Regions from separate parts of the Homo sapiens genome. Here all the other regions are linked to region 3. The links are contacts of gene promoters, found by promoter capture Hi-C in human tissues and cell types (Jung and others, 2019). All regions are on one chromosome and are shown on one strand. The core of a region is centred on a gene start or on the middle of the fragment in contact, and the rest is flanking DNA. Distances in the headings are between cores, read along the strand shown.

Region 1 (3,404 bases), core at 732-3,231, 240 kb after region 3:
GGAGAGGTCCTTTGGGTTGGGCATTGAGTCTCTGGGGCAGGGCCAGGACAAGGATGAGGCAAGTGAGGCACTCAGTGTAAAATTTAAGGAGGTGCTCACTCTCAGGAGCATGCAAGTGCAGGCCTGGCACCTGACAGTGAGTGCCTCCTTAAATGTGGTGCCCTAGGGCCTCACCTGCCTCCCACTACTGCCTACTCTTCCTTGGAGAGAAGGATTTGCCAGGCCTTGGAAAGATACAAGTTGAATGGATGGGAAGGGGGGACGTATCATAGGCCCTGAGACTGTGTGTGGGAGAAGCAGTCCATCCATGAGGGACTGGCCCAGTTAGGAGTGGTGCGGTGCTAGAAGGGTGGGCTGGGAGGAGTTTGGATTTTATCCTGAAGGTCCTGGGAAACCACTGCAGGACTTTAAGAAATTATGCCAAACTGGGGGAAATGGGGATGATAACAGCCACTTCCCAGAGTTAATATCAAGATTAAATGAGATAATCCACATAAACCTTTTCAGTTGGCGTGGGGCCTGATGTGGAGTGGATGCTTAATCATCATGAGTTTCTTGGACTTTGAGGGGATCTACTGATTTTCTTAATCAGGTTTTGGGTCTAACAGCAGAACTGTTCAAATCACAATGTAGGAATAGAAAATTAGCAAAACCTGAAGTAAACTAACTGTCCACTCCTGTCTGGCAACATCTTGGGAAGAGGAAGATGGCATGTTCAAGAACTAGAGGAAAGTCGGAGCTTTCAAGTTGCTCCAAGGCCTCCATTCTCAGAACAGAAACCAAGGCCTGGGAAGGCTCTGCAGTGAGTTACTCTGCAGTGAGTTCATGGCTGTGCCAGAGGCTGCTGTTCCACCCCACAGTCCCCTCCCACCACCCCCTAGACAGTGCCTGTGCTCCTCTGTCTCTGCAGGAGGCCTTCCCGACAGTCTGTGTCTCCTCCCTGAACTGTGCTGACCCTGAAAACAGAAAAAGCGAGAAGCAGACAGGACCAGGCGGCCCTTCCCACCCCTACTGTGGCAGGCTGGCCTGGGACAGAGCAGCAAGTCCAAGGCCCTCTTCGCCCCGGGCCAGCTCCCTGAGGGAGGGGCCGCCCAAGGAACTGAGGGCTATCATTGCCCTCGACTTGCCAGCCCAGTGAAGGCCATTCCCTGTGGCCCCGTGGGTCACGTCAGTCAAGTGTTTGGGAAAAATAAGTGTGCAACGATGTGGCGGGTGCGTCCTTCAGAGCTCGCTGGTCTCCCTCTCCCCCAGCTCCCACTGATGGAGGCCAGGAGGTCACCCGAATCTCCCAGACACACTCATGGAGACAGGGCACACAGACTCCGCTCCCAGCTCCCAACCCTTCTACCTGCTTCAGGCCTGCAGCTCCGGCTGAGAAACCTAACAGGTCCTGGGCAGATTCCCAGCCGCCAGCCCTCCGTGCCCCCCTGCCTGCTCCACCAAGCTGTGCAAATGGCTGCCTGACGGGCCATCATGACATTTAAGGGCACTGGGAAGCCCCTGATGCAGACCCATCTTCCCACCCATCTTCCCACTAGCTTAAAATCCATCCTCAATGCGTCCTTAGCCTCATCATGTCCTGTCTGTGGCCGAATCCACTGCCACCTCTTCCCAGATACCTTTCTCAAACTACAGAGGAACAGTGACCTTCTTCCTCTGCCTGCAGCCTACACAATAGGTTTCAGCTTTGGGTGCAGGCCTGGCCACGTCTGTTTCTTGTCCCAGGTAGCTGTGAACAAAACTGTCTGCCTCTTTCAGTATGAACCACCCAAGAGCTGGAGCTACTTCTTATTCGACTTTGAAATCCCCAAATGCGTGGACTGAGTGGCTGACATGAAAACAGAAAGACCACAGTCTTCAGAGACTGGAAGGATTAAGCTTGAAGTCTGGCCTGATACTTGCCAAGTGGCTTCAGGGAAGCCACTTAAATTGTCTGAGCCTCCATTTTCTCATCCATTCAATAGGATGATGGTATCTACCTTGCAGGGCTGTTGCCCCACATAAAGTAGTCAGAGTGCCCAGCCCAGGAGCTAGGACCCGGCAGGCACCTGTTGCTTCATTCACAGATGCCTACTGTGTGCCTGCTCTGGGCCAGCCTCCAGGGCAGCCATGGAGACAGCAAGCTAGGACTCAAGCACAGTTCCGGAAGCCTCTGCTGAGAGCCCTCTGTCTGGGTTGTGCTGGGGCTGGGGCTGCAGGAATGGGTACAGCATCCTTGCCCTCCAGGCATTAATGGTCATTCCCATCATGGGCACAGTGGATTTTCCAGGCTCCTTCCAGCCGCATAGTTGCTGAGATCAGCTCCTAGAATTTGGTGATGGATGATTCCTGGGATATTCTTCCTAGAGTGAAGGGCCTGGCCTAGGTAGGGGAAGTGAGGGCTGGAAGGAGAGAGGAATTCAGAAGAAAGAAGGCTGAGTGCCTGACCTCAAAGAGTGCCCAGTGTGGCATGCCCATTGCTCTCCAGGAGGGGGTGAGATGGCCAAAGCCAGCCTGGATTCCTCCTTTAGGGAAAATAGGTATCAGCCAGCTCGGGGAAGAAGCCACAAGCTGGGCTTTGTCCTCTTGTTTAACTTGGGGCCAGGCCTGTGAGCACTGGACCATGGGGCTCCAAGGCTCAGGCAGGGCCAGAGAAAGAGTTAAGTGAGACCTGGTGCCATCTTCTTCTACTGCCAAGGGAGTCTCTGAGTCCAGGTCCAGCAGATTGGGACCTACCAACCTTAGGTTCCAGATTCTAATGCCCCACTTTCAGGTAGGTGGCTGGTAAGAGACAGTTGAGTGTAGGCTATAGGCAGAACCCAGGGCACAGCTCCTTGTGGGATCAGAAAGTGAAGGGTCCCTGCCCTGTGGGGCAGGGGGAGGGCTAGTCCTGGCGAAGGCACCACACTCCCATGAAAGGCCTGGACAGCAACCACAGAGGCCTCTGCAGTCGTACAGGGGCGGGGGGTTCTCGGTCATCTGTCAGTGCAGAGGGGACAGGTGCAGAGGAGTGGGGTGGGCCTAGTGAGGTGAGTGAACTGAGGAAGGCTCTGGGAGAGGCACCTGCGGATCCCAGGCTTTGAATGACTTCATAGGTGTGGAGGGGATCTCCCAAGAGTACCTGCTTACTCTGTTAAGGTGTCAATGGCTCTTTTTCTCCTCCTGGCCTCCTCTAAAGGTCTGAGGACCAGTGGGAGGGCTGGCCCCATCCCCTAATCCAACATCCCAGCCATGTCTTCCTGAACATGTCTGAAAATGCTCATCCCTGAGGCTGCCCCGGGTTTGGTGAGCTCCTCTGGGTGGGAACTTTCTTTGTGTTCATGATGCCTCTCTGCCTCCCCTCAAATCCAGCATTTCTGCAGGTGGGTGGATCTCAGAGACCCCAGCTCTCACCTCAGTCTGCGCATCCTTCTCTGGAGAGGCTG
Region 2 (3,144 bases), core at 28-2,527, 130 kb after region 3:
AGGTTAGTGCCTTCAGGGAAGCAATGTTTTTAGAAACACCAATGGGAATGGAGCCCAAATCCAATGAATGATGGATGCAGTGGCCCTGACATAAGAACTTGGGAGTCCAGGGAGGGGTCGAGGAGTGCCCTCAGTTATGGGTGAAGTCTCGGGAGTCGGTGAAACCCTCAGGCTGCAGTGTGCTCCCACTTTCTCCAGCCTCCATGGTACCTTTCCTGCCCACTCCTCCTTCTCTGACAAGCTGGCTCCACTCAGCACCCTCCAATACATGCTCCTTGGCTGTGCTCCTGCCTACAGCACTGACCACACCGTATTCTAATTGTAGGGTGAGTTCCTTGGGGCAAGAACCAAATGTGTCTTATTTACCATTCTGTCTCTAGCACCTTGCACAGTGCCTGGCACATAGTAGATGCTCAATAAAAATTTGTGGAATGATGAATATTCTTTTGCATCCTACCTATTTCCTCTCCCTACCAACCCCTTTTGAATGACTCGCATCTGCTCATCTTGGCTCTTATCCACTGCGTTGTGATTTCCTTCATCCCCTTTCTTCAAGGCTCTTAAATCCTGCATACAGATGAAGATGTCAAGGCAAACTCAGTGCAGAGGCAGGTTCAGTGCTTCCCCTGCTCTCTGCTTCTGTGAATGTGGGGCTGATGTGTAGCCTGGACAGCCTGGGGCTCAAGAAGCTTGCTTTGCGCAGCTCCCACCAGTGAGGCTTCAGTGGGGGAGCTGCCTGAGGCTTAAGACTGGGGGTGCCTTCATTTTAGTATCAGCCAAGTGCAGGCCATTTTGGGGAGGTTGTCCCTTGTCTGACTCCTACCTTGCAAAAGGCAGGCTGTGCTAATATCAGAAGACAGAACCACCACCCCAGGCCCCGTGCAGTCCTTTGTGTTCATTTTGTTTGGGTGGATATTTCCCCACTGGAGTTTGGACATGATTCATGGTGATAAAGGCTGCCACATCTTACTGGATCTGCCTAAAGCCAAATGTGAGGGGATGCCAGACTTGCCTGAAGCTTTGTGTGAATAAGCATGGCCTCTTTTGCCTCCCCTTTTTTTTGCCATGTTGACCACGAAATGACTGCAGGGAGGCAGGGAACCTGGAGCATCCAGGCTGGTGGATCTGCCAGCCTGTCACTTCAGACTGGAAAGAGACCAAGGCCTGTAAGTACTGGATGTCAGGGCATTCCGTTTTAATGGTGGAGCAGGAGCAGTTTTCTCACAGAACAGTCAGGGGTCTGTGTTCTGAGGAGTGGGGGTGCCGGGGGGACCGTCTCCATGGTGCTGCCCTCTGGGCCCTGGGGTGAGCTGGTTCCATGGACTTTTTCCTTCTAAGTATGTGTGACAAAGGTGTGACAGTGTGCCCAGCATACCAGTTCCCCTGCCAGGCAGTTTAAGGGCTTTGTCTGTCTCAAATTAATTTTCACTGTCTCCAGCAAGATTCTCCAATTGATGAATTAAAAAAAAAAAAAACAAGAAAGCAAAACAACACAGAAAAATCCAGAAACAAAATCAAAACACAAACCCATTGCAGTCCCTGAGGGGACAGCCTGTGAGGAGCTGGTTGACAGCAGAGAGCAGTTAGGCGGTGTTTCGGTTGTTTATTGCCACGTGGCAAACCAGCCCTAAATATACTGGCTTAAAGCAACTATTTGCTCATGATCATATAGGTCAGAATTTGAGGAGGATGGCTGGACGCGGTGGCTCATGCCTGTAATCCCAGCACTTTGGGAGGCTGAGGCAGGTGGATCATGAGGTCAGGAGTTCGAGACCAGCCTGGCCAATGTGGTGAAACCCTGTCTCTACTAAAAATACAAAAATTAGCTGGGCATGGTGGTGGGCATCTGTAATCCCAGCTACTCAGGAGGCTGGAGAATTATTTGAACCCAGGAGGCGGAGGTTGCAGTGAGCCAAGATCGCACCATTGCATTCCAGCCTGGATGACAGGGCAAGACTGTCTCAAAAAAAAAAAAGAAAAAAAAGAATTTGGGGAGGATTCTGTGGAGACAGCTTTTCTCTCTTCTACTTGGGTTACTCAACTGGGGATAGACGATCCAAGATGGTGCCACTCCCATGTCTGGGGCCTTGGAGATGCTCTTGACTGGGAACCTCAGTCCTTCTGAACATGGCCTAGTCCTCTCTGCATGGCCCCTCATTCTCTGGGGCCTCTTTCTCCTGTGGCTTCTCTCTGTAGCAGAACAGCCTGATTTCTTTGCATGTGGCAGGAACCTGCCTCTGCAAAGTGGAAGCTGCAAGATCACGTCAAGCCCAGAAGGTCATTGGTGCCACATTCTGTTGGTCAGAACAAACCTCATGGCCAGTCCAGATTCAGGGGGAGGGAAACATAACCCACCTTTTGATAGGAGATTGCTGTGGCTGTCTTTGGAAATAGTCTATCACAGGAAATAATCCGTCACCTCCATTGCTGGTTTTCTTCTCACCATTGTCACCTCTGAGCCTGTCCCTCTTTACCTCACCCTACTCCCACTCCAATCCCTCCTCCCCCTTGCATCCTCAAAGAGAGGGGCTGCTACCTGCTATCTGGCGCAAAGGAAGGGGGTCGATTTAAAAAAAAAAAAGCTCATGTGGTATTTTTGTGGCTATAGATGATGAATCCTAGAACTCTGTTGTTCCTTATAAACCACTATGTTTGTCTACAAATTTAGCACTCGAGGGAATGTTTTGTGATTTCTGTTGTGGGAGCCTCCAGCGTGACTGTGAAGCCGGCTGAACCCAAGTGCCCGTTTCCCACATTTTGGTGTGTCCTCACCAGCCGGGGTTGCCCTTCATGATGCAGCCATAAAATGTGCACCTTGCACATGGTTAAGCAGCGTATTAGTTGTTCTAGCCTTCCTTAGAATAGCTGTGAAGTTTAAATTCTCAAAATCTAAGTGAAATAGCTATTTATTTTGCACTTTTATTTGGGACAGAAAATCCTAGAGAAAGCTTAGGACTGGTGTGAGATGGTATCTCATAGTGGTTTTGATTTGCATTTCTCTGATGGCCAGTGATGATGAGCATTTTTTCATGTGTTTTTTGGCTGCATAAATGTCTTCTTTTGAGAAGTGTCTGTTCATGTCCTTCGCCCACTTTTTGATGGGGTTGTTTGTTTTTTTCTTGTAAATTTGTTTGAGTTCATTGT
Region 3 (3,142 bases), core at 472-2,971:
TACTATCTTGCAATGTGCGTTTATTACACGAATGAATGAAATGGTTTAAAAAAAAATCCCAATAAGTGATATTAGGAAGAGGCACCAAAGGTTCACAAACTTATTTTTGTGAATTCTGTAAAAAATGTCATCCAGTGTCTTCAGCATTAAAGGACACAGCAGCAGCCCCACTGCCCTTTTATTAATCCGTAGCCAGAATGGGCACTAGGCGGCCGGGATTCGCCATCTCGCCTCTCCTGGGCGCCAGGTGCGCCTCAGATAAGCGCAGCCGGGTAGGAGTTTGAGGACGACAAACTTTCCCGCTTCTGAGGGAGGAGCCCCGGAGAGGACCCGCTGACGTGCGAGGGTGCTGCCTCCGATGTACTACCAAGGAGGGCGAGGGTTCCTATGTCTGTCTGGAGCGCAGAGGGGTGGACTGCAAAAAGGTAGGAGGCAAAGCCAGCTCGAGTTTCCCCGGCCCGTAGCTGGAGGGAACATCTGCCCAAGTGTCGCCTCGCCCGAGAACGCTCACGCCCTCTCCAGGGCCAGGACCCTTCCTCCTCCCCTCGCACTGGCCCTTCGTGGCTTCCAGCACCGCTGAGCACTCGGCGTCCCAGCGAGATTCTCCTGCCCCGACAGACTCCGAGGGGGCGGGGCCCGGCGGGACGGGGCGGGGACAAGCCCTCCCCGGGCCCGCCCGTTGGCATTGTTGCGCGGTGATTGGACGCTTCGGAAGGCCGCCTTCCAGGCCGACCCGGGGAGTGACGGGCGGCCAGCGGCTGCTCCCCGGCGTGTGGGGTGCGGAGTGCGGGGCCCAAGGCTCCAGAGGGGTGGGGACTCCGGGCCGCAGCGCCGCCGAGCGCGATTGCCCGCTGAGATTCGGCGCCCCGGGGTGCGGCAAGCTTGCGGTTTCAGGTGCTGGCTAGGCGTCTTGGTGCGCTCGCTGGAGTGCCGAGAGCATTTGGGAAACTTAACTTCTCGCCCCCACTCCTTGCTCCCGACTTTCGGGTAGAAAAGCAGTTGCCGAGTTGTTTTATTTCCTCCCCCATCGGACTCTGTAAAAATAGCCGTGCGCCGGGGCGGCAGAGCCCATCTCTGCCGCACCGCTGCCCCGGGTCGGCAGAGCCCATCTCTGCCGCACCGCTGCCCCGGGTCGGGTGTGGACCTAAAAATACCCGGCGGTCCCAAGCCTGCGCTGGGGGTGCGGGCGGGTCCGGCCGGGCCGCAGAGGGCGTCAGGAGACCGGAGAAACGGCGGCCGCCTGGCCCCCTCGCCTCTGCCGGGGCTGTCCCTTTAAATCCTGGAGGAGGCAGAGAGAAAAAAGGAAAGAAAGAGAAAAGACGCGGAGCCCCGAGCGGTTGGTGGCGGTGCCCGGCCCCCCCACTCCGCCTCCGCGTCGGGTCCTGACTCCCGCCCGCAGCCTCCGCCAGTCCCGGGCGCCCCCCGCCGCGCCGCCCACTCGCCACAGTTACTGTCAAAATAGAAATTAGCGGAGCCGGGCGGGGGCTGCGGCGCAGCAAGTGCATGTGCCGCGCGGCGGGGAGGGGGCGGGCGCGAGCGACAGGCGACCGCACACATCCGGGCCCTTTAGCCCTGTGCGCCCCCCGAGCCGGCGGCGCGGGCGCGGGGCGCGGGGCGCGGGGCTGACAGCCGCGGCGCGGGAGGCGGGGCGCGGGGAGGGCGGAGGCGCGGCGCGGGGAGGGAGGAGCTGCCCGCTCGCCCGCTGCCGCCGCTCAGCTCCATACCCGCCGGCGCAGCCCCGCCACGAGACTCTGACAGCGGCGCGGCCGGCGAGGCTCGGGCGCGCAGGGACCGGCGGACACCGGCGGCGAAGGAGGACGCCAGGACTGCGTCCCGGAGCCAAGTGCGGGAGGCGCGCAGGGCCGGCGGCGCGCGGAGGTGAGCGGCTTCGCGCGCCGGGCTCGGGCGCCGGCTGCCGGGGTCGCGATCTCCACAGCACCTCGGCAGCCGAGGCAGTTCGGGAGGTCGCGGGGCGGCGGGCGGGTGGCTTTGCTTGGGCTGCGCCGGAAAGCGATTGCGGGGGCCGTTGCTAGGAGGCCGGCGGTCCGCGCGCCTTGGGGCGCCGGCTGGAGCAGGGGCGCCCTCCGCGCGGTGGGCAGGAGGCGGGGGGCTGCGGTGGCTATTCAGGGGCTCCGTGCGGCAGCCATGCAACGGAGGAGGCGGGAGGAGGGAGGGAGGGAAGGAGGGAGGGGAGAGCCAGCGGAGAGCGAGCCAGCGAGCGGGCGCCGCGCCTCCTGGCTGGCACCGCGGCCCGGAGCGAAGTGGCGCGCGGGGCTGGAAAGGAACTTCTGCGGGCGCGTGCGGCCCGGGGCTCGGCGGCGCCTGCGGGCCCGAGCGGGGCGGGCCCGTCGGCAGCCACAGGTGGTTTCTGCCAAAAGTTTTACCGCACTTCTGCCTGGAAGGCGCGGGAGCGTTTTGGTGAGTGACGTTTTCCTGGGACTTTTGCAGTCTCACTTCGCGCTGTCTTTTCTTGAAAATTGGAAAATGAGCTGGAAAGGCTGGGATCCAGCACCTCTCGATGAGATCTGAGCAGAGTACAGTCCTTGCCCGAGGTGTCGCTCATGCAGGACTCAAAGATCCTTGCTGCTGTCAAGTCGGGAAGCTGGGGGAAATGGGCGCACGCACACAGTTCCTCCAAGCCTCGGACAAGTGAAGCCGAGCCTGGCCCGGTGCCTGTCGCCGCGCGGGGTAGTGCGAGGTCTGTTCCCAGCGACACGCACGGGAACTGCGTGCGTCTTCTCTCAAGGTGTGTACGTCTCTTGCTCCGTTGAAAGCGAATTGTCTCTGGCCGCTGTGCTGCTTTGTTTTTCCGGTTGCTTGTCTGGTTTTACTAGGATGAAGGCCAGGAGGAGCCAAAGAAAAGCGAAGCGGCAGCTCCCGTTATCTTTGCAATCTGCAAAGCTGTGGAGGCTGGTACCCAACCTTCCGCGGCGCGGGCGCAAGGCCGAGGGGAGCTGGGGGTGGGTGGCGTGCGCTGCCTGTATGGGAAGTCTCGCTGGACCATGCGCAAGGCTAGAGCCGGAGTTTCTGGTGCTTCTAGGACAGAAAGAGGAGTGGGAGTGGGAAGGGAAGACCCCTTAAAAGAAGATATACTGTGCCCAGACCTGGGAGAGAGGCTCCGAGAAGTCCGGTGGCTTGGCCC

Evidence for each region. Contacts are between HindIII fragments. The study calls those that stand out against the background at their distance.
Region 1: a contact is called between a fragment that was not itself captured here and the fragment with the promoter of ZBTB7C in region 3, in 2 of the 25 tissues and cell types used here (dorsolateral prefrontal cortex and thymus).
Region 2: a contact is called between a fragment that was not itself captured here and the fragment with the promoter of ZBTB7C in region 3, in 2 of the 25 tissues and cell types used here (liver and mesendoderm cells).

Annotation. Positions count from the first base shown.
Region 1 is chr18:48,170,377-48,173,780 of GRCh38, reverse strand. All of the region lies in intron 3 of ZBTB7C (zinc finger and BTB domain containing 7C), which reads left to right. All of the region lies in intron 2 of ZBTB7C-AS1 (ZBTB7C antisense RNA 1), which reads right to left. Among named protein-coding and RNA genes, the nearest start is that of ZBTB7C-AS1, 9.4 kb to the right of the region's middle. RefSeq lists an enhancer at 1,114-1,614. The HindIII fragment of the contact is 8,757 bases long and covers 1-3,404 here.
Region 2 is chr18:48,277,275-48,280,418 of GRCh38, reverse strand. The region is part of intron 2 of ZBTB7C (zinc finger and BTB domain containing 7C); the gene reads left to right. Among named protein-coding and RNA genes, the nearest start is that of ZBTB7C-AS2, 27 kb to the right of the region's middle. The HindIII fragment of the contact is 4,548 bases long and covers 1-3,144 here.
Region 3 is chr18:48,407,962-48,411,103 of GRCh38, reverse strand. It overlaps ZBTB7C (zinc finger and BTB domain containing 7C), which reads left to right and starts at 1,721. Exons shown (of 5, transcript NM_001318841.2): 1 at 1,721-1,878. RefSeq lists a silencer at 553-932 and enhancers at 2,203-2,820, 2,821-3,142. The HindIII fragment of the contact is 7,054 bases long and covers 1-3,142 here.